Linked DNA regions of Homo sapiens: regions 2 and 3 are each linked to region 1. The links are contacts of gene promoters, found by promoter capture Hi-C in blood cells and fetal thymus (Javierre and others, 2016). All regions are on one chromosome and are shown on one strand. Each heading gives the region's core, a stretch centred on a gene start or on the middle of the fragment in contact. The rest is flanking DNA. Distances are from core to core; before and after follow the strand shown.

Region 1 (3,317 bases), core at 358-2,857:
CCTGACCATATCCTCCTCTCTTCCCTCAAACCTTCCCAAATCTTTTCAGCATAAACTTACCATCAGTTCAGATAGGTTAGTGCCACACACCTGCAAATAAGTCCTCCCCCACTGTAAATACTCTCCTTTAAGGTGGGCTGAATTCCTACCTCCCGGAAAGTTAGTTACCTTGTCATAACATGTTGAATTTTTAATATCCTGGATTCCCTCAATAGTCTTTACCACCTGTATTGTTTTCAACCCTTAACCTTAAGCTTTGTCTCTACCTAAGTCAAAAACATCTGGAGACTTAACACTATACAGTACTATGGAACAAAATACAAATGCCTCTTTAAGAAATACCAAATAAAGGCCAGACGTGGTGGCTCACGCCTGTAATCTAGAGACCTAACACCATACAGTACTATGGAACAAAATACAAATGCCTTTTTAAGAAATACCAAATAAAGGCCAGGCATGTTGGCTCACGCCTGTAATCCCAGCACTTTGGGAGGCTGAGGCAGGTGGATCACCTGAGGTCAGGAGTTTGAGACCAGCCTGGCTAACACGGTGAAACCCCGTTTCTACTAAAAATACAAAAAATTAGCAGAGCATGGTGGCACGTGCCTATAATCCCAGCTACTCGGGAGGCTGAGGCAGGAGAATCGCTTGAACCCCGGAGGCGGAGGTTGCAGTGAGCCGAGGTCGCACCACTGCACTCCAGCTTGGGCAACAAGAACGAAACTCAGTCTCAAAAACTATAAATAAATAAATCGCAGCCGTTAGGAGACTAAGATTCCACAGACTGATTACTGAAAGTAATTGCAAAAACTGCAAATACTTTTGTACCAACCTAATAGATGCCAGGCAGGAAACCAGATAAAAGCCGAGAAAAGAAGGGCCAATATTAGAAGGGGTTACCGGGCTGTGTGCACTAAGGGACCCCCTCCCTTTCCCAGAACGCACCGCCAGCACTGCACCTTCACTCAGTACCAGGTAGCCGAGCTGGTCTGGGATTCGCTCCAGCCCCTGGGTCAGCGCAGAAGTCTAGTGGGTAAAGATGCAAGTCGTGAGAAGCATGCTAGAGGGATGGACGGCCCGATACCCTTCACCTGCAAACCCAAGTCTCTGGGTTGACGATGGCCCCAGGTTTTCTCATTCCCCAGCCAGGTCCCTTCCCGGCCCCCTCCCCCCTACATGGTCCTCAATACTGATCTTCCCGAGCCTCCATCTGCCCCCACTCTCGCCCCCGGGCTCCCCTGGCCTTCCACATCCCACCTTTGCTACCCCAAGGGGCCTTTGCTGCCCCACTGGCCCCTGCCCCCAGACCCTCTCTTCACCTCCCTTCGTCTCCGCCCGACCTGCAGACTACCCGCAGCCCCAGAACACCCTCCCACAGACCCCTCCCCAGCATTCTCGTCGCCATCCCTCCCATTTCCATCCCCTCTTCCTCCCCGAGCGGATAGGAGGTGAGGGTGGAGCGCAGGCCCACCAGGGGGAAACCACACAGACTGGGGAGCAGAGACGCTGAACCCCCGGCGGGTCCTCTCGCGCATGCGTCCTCACTCACCATCGCAGTCTTCGGTGCTGGGGGAGCTCCCTACCAGATAGGTAGCTTCCGGCTTCAGGCCCCGGTCACGTGCTTGCAGCCGCTGCGCTCCTCCTTCTGCTTGCGCCACTGGCCTTTAGCCCCGCCTCTAGCATGAGGATTGGACAGTGGCCACGTCGTCAGACCCAACCAGCCAGTGCGAAGCGCTGTTTCCCGGAGGCGCACGTTGATTGGTGATATCCCCTCTTTAACACCCATCTCCCCGCCCCTCAGTGCCTGAGCGAGAGGAAGACGCGGGAGCGTCCGAGGAGGGGAGGATCTGGGAGGGGCGGGAGTAGGCCGGGGTTGACCGTTTGGTCCTGGGCGCACTGTCTGGAGCCAGAGTTCCGCCTGAGCCAGGATGCCCGCTGGTGTGACCCCCCCAAATGAATCCCTTCCCAGGTTTAAGACTGGACCCAAAAACTAGAGAATAAAAGGAAATAACGTGCAATGCATGTGAAAAACTATTCAAGGCTGGGCGCCGTGGCTCACGCCTGTAATCTCAGCGCTTTGCGAGGCCGAGGACGGATCATTTCAGGGCAAGAGTTCGAGACGAGCCTGAGCAACATAGCGAGACCCTCCCCAGTCCCCCCGCTCCAACCACCTCTACAAAAAAATAAGAAAATAAGCCGGGCATGGTGCCTCACGCCAGTAATTCCAGCTACTAGGGAGGCTGATGGAGGAGAATCTCTTGAGCTCAGCAGTTGCAGAGTGCAGTGAGCTATTATGGTGCCACTGCACTCCAGCCTGGGTGCCCTTCCTCTAAAAAAAAAAGAAAAGAAAAGGAAAAAAAAGGTACTCAAATGCTACTTTTTTTTTTTTTTGAGTCGGAGTCTCACTCGGTCGCCCAGGTTGCAGTGCAATGGCGCGATCTCTGGCTCAATACAACTTCCGCCTCCCGTGTTCAAGCAATTCTCCTGCCTCAGCCTCGCGAGTAGCTGGGATTACAGGCGCCCACCACCACGCCCGGCTATTTTTGTGTTTTTAGTAGAGATAGGGTTTCACCATATTGGCCAGGCTGGTCTCAAACTCCTGACCTCGTGATCCGCCCGCCTCGGCCTCCCAAAGTGCTGGGATTACAGGCTTGAGCCACCGCGTCCGGCCCTCAAATGCTACTTTTGTGCCTACTCAAGACAGCTCTTTGTTGAAGACAAGAATTTGTTCCCGAAGTGGTTTTTTTGTCCCCAGATTCAGTCCGGGACAATGTGGTGGTAAATAGAATCCCCAGCTAGCCAATGCAGCTGCAATACTGAATATTCATTCCCTACAGGAAAAAATTAGAAACAGTACCTTGGAATGATACACACACACACACACACACACACACACACACACATCACACAATATATGTAAACATTAGAAATTTTTGTTTTAAATAATTTCTAAACCTGTTGCCATATTAATGTGGTGGAGGCTGTGTTAGTGAAATAATATGAAGAATGATTCTAGAAGCCTGGGCAACATAGCAAGACCCCATCTCTAAAAATTTAAAAATTAACCAGGCATGATACTGCACATGTAGTCCCAGCTACCCGGGAGGCTGAGGTGGGAGAATCGCTTGAGCCCAGGAGGTTGAGGCTGCAGTGAGCCATGATCATGCTACTGCACTCAAGACTGGGTAAAAGAGCAAGATTGTCTCAAAAAGCAACAAAAAAATCTGAATATAATAACAATTGTTAAAGTCTGGGTGTCTTTTAAGACTTGTTAGAAACAGCAATTTCAAGGCTGGGCGTGGTAGCTCACACCTGTA
Region 2 (3,660 bases), core at 1,050-3,549, 330 kb before region 1:
GGAGAGAAACAGAAGTGTGGATGCTTCTAACAAAGAGATAAAGAATAAATACATAAAGAGGGTAGGTATTGCATTGTTTTATTTTTACGTACCCCTAAAGAGGGGTTAGAGGCCGGGCGTGGTGGCTTATGCCTGTAATCCCAGCACTTTGGGAGGCCGAGGCGGGCGGATCACGAGGTCAGGAGATCAAGACCATCCTGGCTAACACGGGGAAACCCCGTCTCTAGTAAAAATACAAAAAATTAGCCGGGCATGGTGGCGGGTGCCTGTAGTCCCAGCTACAGGCTGAGGCAGGAGAATGGCGTGAACCCGGGAGGTGGAGCTTGCAGTGAGCCGAGATAGAGCCACTGCACTCCAGCCTGGGCGACAGAGCGAGACTCCGTCTCAAAAAAAGAGGGGTTAGAAATTTCCCTGAGGCCAGGCACCATGGCTCACGCCTGTAATGTCAGCTCTTTGGGAGGCCCAGGTGGAAGTATCATTTGAGGCCAGGAATTCGAGACCAGCCTGGGCAACATAGTAATAACCTGTCTCTACAAAAACTAAAAAATTAGCCAGGTATGGTGGTATACACCTGTGGTCCCAGCTACTAGGGAGGCAGAAGCAGGAGGATCACTTGAGGCCGGGAGTTCAAGACCACCCTGGGCAACATTGCAAGATCCCCATCTCTACCAAAAAAAAAAATTTTTTTTTAAAGAAATTTAGCCAGGCGTAGTAGTGTGTGTCTGTGGTCCCAGCTACTTGGGAGGCTGAGGCAGGAGCATGGCTTGAGCCCAGGAGTTCCAGGCTGTGGTGAGCTATGATCGCACCACTGCACTCCATCCTGGGCAACAGAGAGAGAGAGAGACCCTGTCTCTAAAAAAAAAGGCGGGGGCAGGTTGGGGGAAAGGGGAATAGTATAACATCTAGGATCTGATTTCAAATAGTCCAGCAAACTACAGCTGGCCCCCACACAATGTCATTTCATTGAATGTCATTTCATTATAACATTGATGATTTTCTAAAAATTGATTTTGGGCTGGGACCACCATCTGTGTGGAGTTTGCATGGTCTCCCCATGTCTGCATGGCATGTTTGAAAATTTTCATAATAATCCACTTTTTTTTTTTTTTTGAGACATGGTCTCACTCTGTTGCCCAGGCTGGAGTGCAGTGGCACAATCTTGGCTCACTGCATCCTCAACCTCCTGGGCTCAAGAGATCCTCCTGCCTCACAGCCTCCTGAGTAGCTGGGACTACAGGTATACATCACCACACTCAGTTTTTTTTTTTTTTTAAGATGGAGTCTCACTCTGTCACCAGGCTGGAGTGCAGTGGCGTGATCTCGACTCACTGCAACCTCCGCCTCCCAGGTTGAAGTGATTCTCCTGCCTCAGCCTCCCGAGTAGCTGGGACTACAGGTGCCCGCCACCACACCTGGCTAATTTTTGTATTTTAAGTAGAGACTTGGTTTCACCATGTTGGCCAGGATGGTCTTAATCTCTTGACCTCGTGATCCGCCCGCCTCGGCCTCCCAAAGTGCTAATTTTTTAAATTTTTTGTAGAGATGGGGATCTCGTTATATTGCCCAGGCTGGTCACGAACTCCTGGGCTCAAGCGATCCTCCCACCTTTGAGTAGCTGGAATTATAGGTGCACATCACCATGCCCAGCTATTTTTTTTTATTTTTTGTAGAGATGGGGTCTTGCTATTATATTGTCCAAACTGGTCTCAAGCGATCCTCCTTCCTCGACCTCCCAAAGTGCGGAGATTACAGGCATGAGCCACCACCGGGATCCGGCAATAATCCACTTTTAAAAATAAGGAATGGGGGGAATAATGCAGTTGCTGTGAAAACCAAAGGAGAATGACAGTAACAGCCACAGCTGCCCCACAGCAGGGACTGGGAACTTCTGGGTGGGCATGCAGCACACCTCCCGGCCTGTGCCTTCCGTCTCTTCTGTGTGTCTCTAGGCCAATGGCAGCAATTGACTACAAGTAAGGGAATCCCTCGCCTCCCTGCAAGCTCCTCCCCTTTCTCCCCGAGCCCCGCCCCCTGCAGCCCCTCCCTGCAAGAGTGGGGCTAGGGCCCGGCAGGTGTGGGGTTAAGGGAGTCTGTTTGGGGCCCCCAGGAGCAGCAGCCTAAGCAGTGGCTGCAGCAACTGCAACAGCAGCGGCTGTGGCAGGCCTGGCCCCGGGCCAGCTGGCGGGAAGCCCCAGGAGGGAGGGAGGGAGGAGGAAGGGGAGGAAGAGGGGAAGGAGGAGGAGGAGGAGGAGAGGAGCAGTCAGCAGGCCCGAGGAGGCAGGACTTCCTGGTGTGGGGGTTGTCAACAGCCCAGAAAGAGAAAGACGGAGAGGCAGAGACCCAGGGGAGCCGAGGAGCGGAGACACGGACCCAGCAGGGTCACGCGGGAGGAGACTCGGGACACCCACTCGCTGGCTGCCACCGGGAGCAGAGGGGGGCTCGGCCGCCCCCTCCCACATCAGTCTCCAGACCCTTGGGGCTTCAGAGGCCGCTCCTAGGCTCCTCGGAGGAGGCGCGGGTTTCTTCTTTTCCGGAGAGCAAACTTTCCTCGGAGATGCCTGGCAGGATGAGCCGCGGCCCCCGGAGAGGACGGGACAGCCTCTGATCGCCGCCTGCGTGCCCCGCCACTGCCCATGGCCAGGAGGCCCCAGGGAACGGACAGCCCGACCTCTTAGGCGCCGGGACCCTCAGGCTCAGATCAGTGGCCGAGGCCCCAGAGGTAGGGTTCAGGGCTGGGTGGGGCGCTGGGGGGTAGCCGGGCAGGGCCTGCCCCAGAGATGTGGGAGCTGGGGTGAGGGTGGGGGCTCGAGGCCCAGGAGAGGTCTCTCTGAGTGGCCGGGCCAGGCTGGGGAGCTGCTTCAGCCTGGTTCTCCCAGGCCCTGGAGTCCGAGCTCTTGGGACAATACGGGCCCCCTGAGTCAGAATCCCAGGCGAGAAATGCCCAACTCTGGGACTCATCTGCCTCTTTCTACTCTGAGTGCCTTCTTGGATCCAGTCCCCTCTGCCCTGGTCTCTGTCATCTCTTGCCTGTCTCTGGGTCTCTGACGGTTTCCCCTTCCCCCACTCTGCTCCCCGGAGAGGAAGCCCCGGAGGTGGCCTGCCCACTGGTTTCACACACACACACACACACACACACACACACACACACACACACACACACACTCTCTCTCTCTCTCTCTCTCTCTCTCTCCCCCTCTTTTTCCAGTTTGCAAACTCAGCTCTGGAGTTCAGCAGCAACAGCAGCAGGAAAAACCTGCCCCTGCTCCCCCCTCCCGCCACCTCCCCTCTCCTCTTCTCCCCTCACCCAGCAGGCACCCCCGGTTCCCGCCAGGCCCTCCTGCCATGTCGGACCCAGACGTCCCCAGGGGCTCGGATGTCCCCGCCATGTGGCCCCCTTGTTCCAGGGGTGCCTGAGCCCCTTCAAGGAGCCCCAACCCACCCCCAACCTTGGCCCAGCCCTGAGCCCCAGGGACCATGAGCGGGGGCAAGAAGAAGAGTAGTTTCCAAATCACCAGCGTCACCACGGACTATGAGGGCCCTGGGAGCCCAGGGGCTTCGGATCCCCCTACCCCACAGCCCCCAACCGGGCCCCCGCCCCGCCTGCCCAATGGGGAGCCCAGCCCCGATCCGGGGGGCAAGGGCACCCCCCGGAATGGCTCC
Region 3 (3,542 bases), core at 1,040-3,539, 420 kb before region 1:
CTTGTGTTGCTGTCCTTGGGACCAGCCTCCCTCCACATCCTCTGTGCCCACTCTGGCACCTCCCCTGAGGACAGGAAGGGACAGGCACAAGTTCCCTGCTAGCCCTGAGCCCCCCACTCTCCCTGCCTCCCAGACGCCTCTCCTTCCCTGACCCCTGCTCTATGTGGTCTACACTGCCAGGTCCTTGAGTCCCGGCTGCAGCGGCCCCTGCCTGAGGACCTGGCCGAGGCTCTGGCCAGTGGGGTCATCCTGTGCCAGCTGGCCAACCAGCTACGGCCGCGCTCCGTGCCCTTCATCCATGTGCCCTCCCCTGCTGTGGTCAGTTGGGGCTGGGGAAGAGGTGGGGGATGGGCCGGGGCGCCTGTGGCCTCTCCCTTACCACATTTTCTTCTTTCACCCACCCCAGCCAAAACTCAGTGCCCTCAAGGCTCGGAAGAATGTGGAGAGTTTTCTAGAAGCCTGTCGAAAAATGGGGGTGCCTGAGGTATGGGGGCTGCTTTCTAAAGAGTGGTGGCATGCCGGACTCAGCCGAGCATGTGGCATGGATGGTGGGCTTCCATTTGCAGCGGATGTCTGCTCTCAGATGAAGGCACAGGCTGCCCCTGCCCTGCCCAGCATGCCCCCTGCCCTGCATGCCCCCTGCCCTGCATGTCACCTGTCCTACACATCCCCTGCCCTGCAGGCCCCATCTTGTCCTGCATGTCACCTGTCCTGCACATGCCCTGCCCTGCACTCCTCCTGCACTGCACTCCCCCTGCCCAGCACGTCAGCATGTGGGCGTGGTTCTGGCCCCAGCACGTGAGGGCAGGGGTGGGAGGGACTGTCCTGCTGCTGCTGCTGACGTCTGTCCCTTGTCCTTGTCCACCTGCTCTCCTCTCCCCCAGGCTGACCTGTGCTCGCCCTCGGATCTCCTCCAGGGCACTGCCCGGGGGCTGCGGACCGCGCTGGAGGCCGTGAAGCGGGTGGGGGGCAAGGCCCTACCGCCCCTCTGGCCCCCCTCTGGTCTGGGCGGCTTCGTCGTCTTCTACGTGGTCCTCATGCTGCTGCTCTATGTCACCTACACTCGGCTCCTGGGTTCCTAGGCCCCAAAATCGGCCCTCCCTCACCCCTTTCCCTTCCTCTCTATTTATAAGGTCCCTGCTCCACCCGACCCCACCTGCGGTGCCTTCAGCCCCAACCAAAGACACTAGTGCACCCCCTTCACAGACACTGACCTCAGAGGCCCCACTCTGGTGCCCCCAGACCCTGGGCCCCCAGCCTCTGGCCTCCCTCCAGTAGCCCCACGAGTCCCCACCTCTCAGTGCTGACGGTGCCTTCATGTCCCCGCCGGCCCTGCCCCTGCCCTCTGTACCCCGTGAGGGGTGGCAGGAGCTGGAGTCTCCCCCTTCCTCCTGTGCCCTCCCCTTCCCCCCCCAACAGCTGCTATGGGGGGGCTAAATTATCTCTATTTTGTAGAGAGGATCTATATTTGTAGGGGTTCGGGGCCCAGGCCGGGTCCCTATCTCTGTGTATAAACTGTACAGACCGTGGCCGCCCTGCCTGTGTGTGTGTGTGTGCGCGCGCGCGCGCGTCTGCTCCGCGTGTTGGTGGCTGTGGCCATGGCTCTGTGCCCACCAGCATCTCCCTCCTGAGATGCCGGCCTCTCATGCTCCCGGAGCGTCCGCCAACCCCCCGTGTCACCTCCCTTCTGTTATCGCTGACAGCTTTCTTGCGTCTCATTTGTCGCCGAGCCCCGAGCGCACGGTGATGCTCGGGTCTGCCCCCGACCCCCTGCCACAGGCCGGAAGCCGCAGGGGGCACCGTGGGGAAGCTAACCCGGCCCCTTCCCCCAGGAGTCACTGTGCCAGCCCCACCACATCCTGGAAGAGGAGGGGGCCCCGGGAAGGGGCCTCCCCTACATCGCTGCTGTCGTCCACGCCCTGCTGGACCGGCCTTAGGGGTGAAGGTGGGGGCACAGGGCCCACCCCGCCCGGGACCCCGGGAGCAGAAGACGCGCCTGGGCTCCGCGCTCTCAGAGAAGCACGTGGTGAGGGTGGCCTGGGCCTGGGCACCCTTGGCCTGCCGGCCTGGCTGCCTCTGGGGTCGAGGGTCTGGGTGGAAGGACCGCGGGTGTCGCAGGTGTCGTGTCAGCCGCAATAAACAGAAGCCAGAAGCCCTCTGGGTGGCCCTCAGGTGTAACTGTGTCTGAGAGCACGTGCGTCGCGGGGTTGTTGGGGGGGCCTCTGTTTCCGGAATTCACCGCCCAGTCGCCAGGGGGCGCCCGCGGGAGCCCGGCGGGGGCACGCGCCACGTGGCCGGGAGACGCACAGGGCGCCAGCGTCGCCGCGAGGCCTCTGGGGTGGGTTCGCCAGGAGGGCACGTTCGCGCCGCGCCGCGGAGGGAGGCTGAGAGGGCCGGGCCGGGCGGCGGGGACACGGCGGTACCGTCCTGCGCTCGGGAACGCGGAATGTTGCCCTGGTCGCCGCCGCGGTGGGGCGCGGGCCCGGAGGAGGCGCCCGAGGGACCAGGCCTTCCGGCGGGCAAGGACCAGGGCGAGCCCTGGAGCGCCGGAGCGGACGCCCCCAGGGAGCTGGGGACACCCCCATGGGACAGGTGAGGGGCTCGGACGGAGCCGTGGGGGGACAGCGACTGGGGGCCTCCATGCCTTCACCACGCGCTCTACGGAGGCTTCTCCATTGTCCCTGCTGGAGATTGGGTCCCTCGGTCTCCCTTGCACCAGGCACCCTTGGGCTCCAGGGGAGGGTGCGTGGGGGCGGTGTGGCTGCAGCCTCAGTCCCTGCCCCTCCAGCCCACAGCCCCCATCCCGTAGCCCTTCCTGGATCTGGAGAGAGCAGCTGCTGCTGCCCCACCACCTGCCAGGCCCGGCCACTGAGCAGCCCCCCGGAGCCCCAGGTAGGACAGGCCCTGCTGCCTCTACTACCCCTAAGAGCCTCTCACTGACTGTGAGCCTGTTATAATCCCCAAGCGTCCCCCCAGATCCCCGTTCCCCCCAGGTGGCCTGGGAGGTGGCCCCCTCGAGGATGACTCCACTAGCGCCCTGGGACCCCAAGTATGAAGCCAAAGCAGGACCTCGGCCGGTGTGGGTGAGTTGGGGGCAAACCTGTGGGACTGGCTGGGGTGCTCAGGGAGCTGTGCGGTGGCCTGAGGCTCCAGTGCTCTGTCCTCCTCACCCTAGGGGGCCAACTGTAGCTCAGGAGCCTCGTTCTCAGGCCGGACGCTGTGTCACCCCTCATTCTGGCCGCTGTATGAAGCAGCCTCGGGCAGGGGTCTCAGGCCCGTGGCCCCTGCCACAGGGCACTGGAATGGACAGCAGGCGCCCCCAGATGCAGGTACCTCCCTTGGTCCCCCGGGGGCGCAAGGCTGCCCCAACTCCTCTGGGAACCAGTGCCCAGGGGTGGGAGCCCGCAGCCCGCCACCCTAGTGGTGTTTCCTCCTAGGGTTCCCGGTGGTGTGCTGTGAAGATGTCTTCCTCTCGGACCCTCTGCTGCCCCGGGGGCAGCGTGTTCCCCTGTACCTGTCCAAGGCCCCCCAGCAGGTGAGAG

What was found. The method cuts DNA at HindIII sites, captures the fragments that hold promoters and counts their contacts. A CHiCAGO score of 5 or more calls a contact.
Region 2: a contact is called between the fragment with the promoter of TSC22D4 here and the fragment with the promoter of LAMTOR4 in region 1, in 10 of 17 cell types (total B cells, fetal thymus, activated CD4 T cells and 7 more). The highest score is 11.3, in total B cells.
Region 3: the fragment with the promoter of SAP25 here is called in contact with the fragment with the promoter of LAMTOR4 in region 1 in 10 of 17 cell types (activated CD4 T cells, monocytes, naive CD8 T cells and 7 more); the score reaches 14.7 in activated CD4 T cells.

Annotation. Positions count from the first base shown.
Region 1 is chr7:100,147,208-100,150,524 of GRCh38, reverse strand. It overlaps LAMTOR4 (late endosomal/lysosomal adaptor, MAPK and MTOR activator 4), which reads right to left and starts at 1,607. Exons shown (of 4, transcript NM_001008395.4): 1 at 1,550-1,607; 2 at 946-1,026. The coding sequence starts at 1,552. RefSeq lists silencers at 1,038-1,127, 1,138-1,227 and enhancers at 767-1,379, 1,528-1,637, 1,908-1,967, 1,992-2,604. The HindIII fragment of the contact is 7,868 bases long and covers 257-3,317 here.
Region 2 is chr7:100,477,853-100,481,512 of GRCh38, reverse strand. It overlaps TSC22D4 (TSC22 domain family member 4), which reads left to right and starts at 2,299. Exons shown (of 5, transcript NM_030935.5): 1 at 2,299-2,719; 2 at 3,206-3,660. The coding sequence starts at 3,475. TSC22D4-C7ORF61 (TSC22D4-C7orf61 readthrough) reads left to right here and starts at 2,299. Exons shown (of 6, transcript NM_001395846.1): 1 at 2,299-2,719; 2 at 3,206-3,660. The coding sequence starts at 3,475. RefSeq lists enhancers at 1,784-1,893, 2,594-2,663 and a silencer at 1,984-2,143. The HindIII fragment of the contact is 34,188 bases long and covers 1-3,660 here.
Region 3 is chr7:100,572,647-100,576,188 of GRCh38, reverse strand. It overlaps SAP25 (Sin3A associated protein 25), which reads left to right and starts at 2,289. Exons shown (of 6, transcript NM_001348680.2): 1 at 2,289-2,592; 2 at 2,789-2,892; 3 at 2,977-3,083; 4 at 3,176-3,329; 5 at 3,438-3,535. The coding sequence starts at 2,447. It overlaps LRCH4 (leucine rich repeats and calponin homology domain containing 4), which reads left to right. Exons shown (of 18, transcript NM_002319.5): 16 at 181-318; 17 at 407-484; 18 at 885-2,178. The coding sequence ends at 1,082. RefSeq lists enhancers at 317-870, 871-1,425. The HindIII fragment of the contact is 23,848 bases long and covers 1-3,542 here.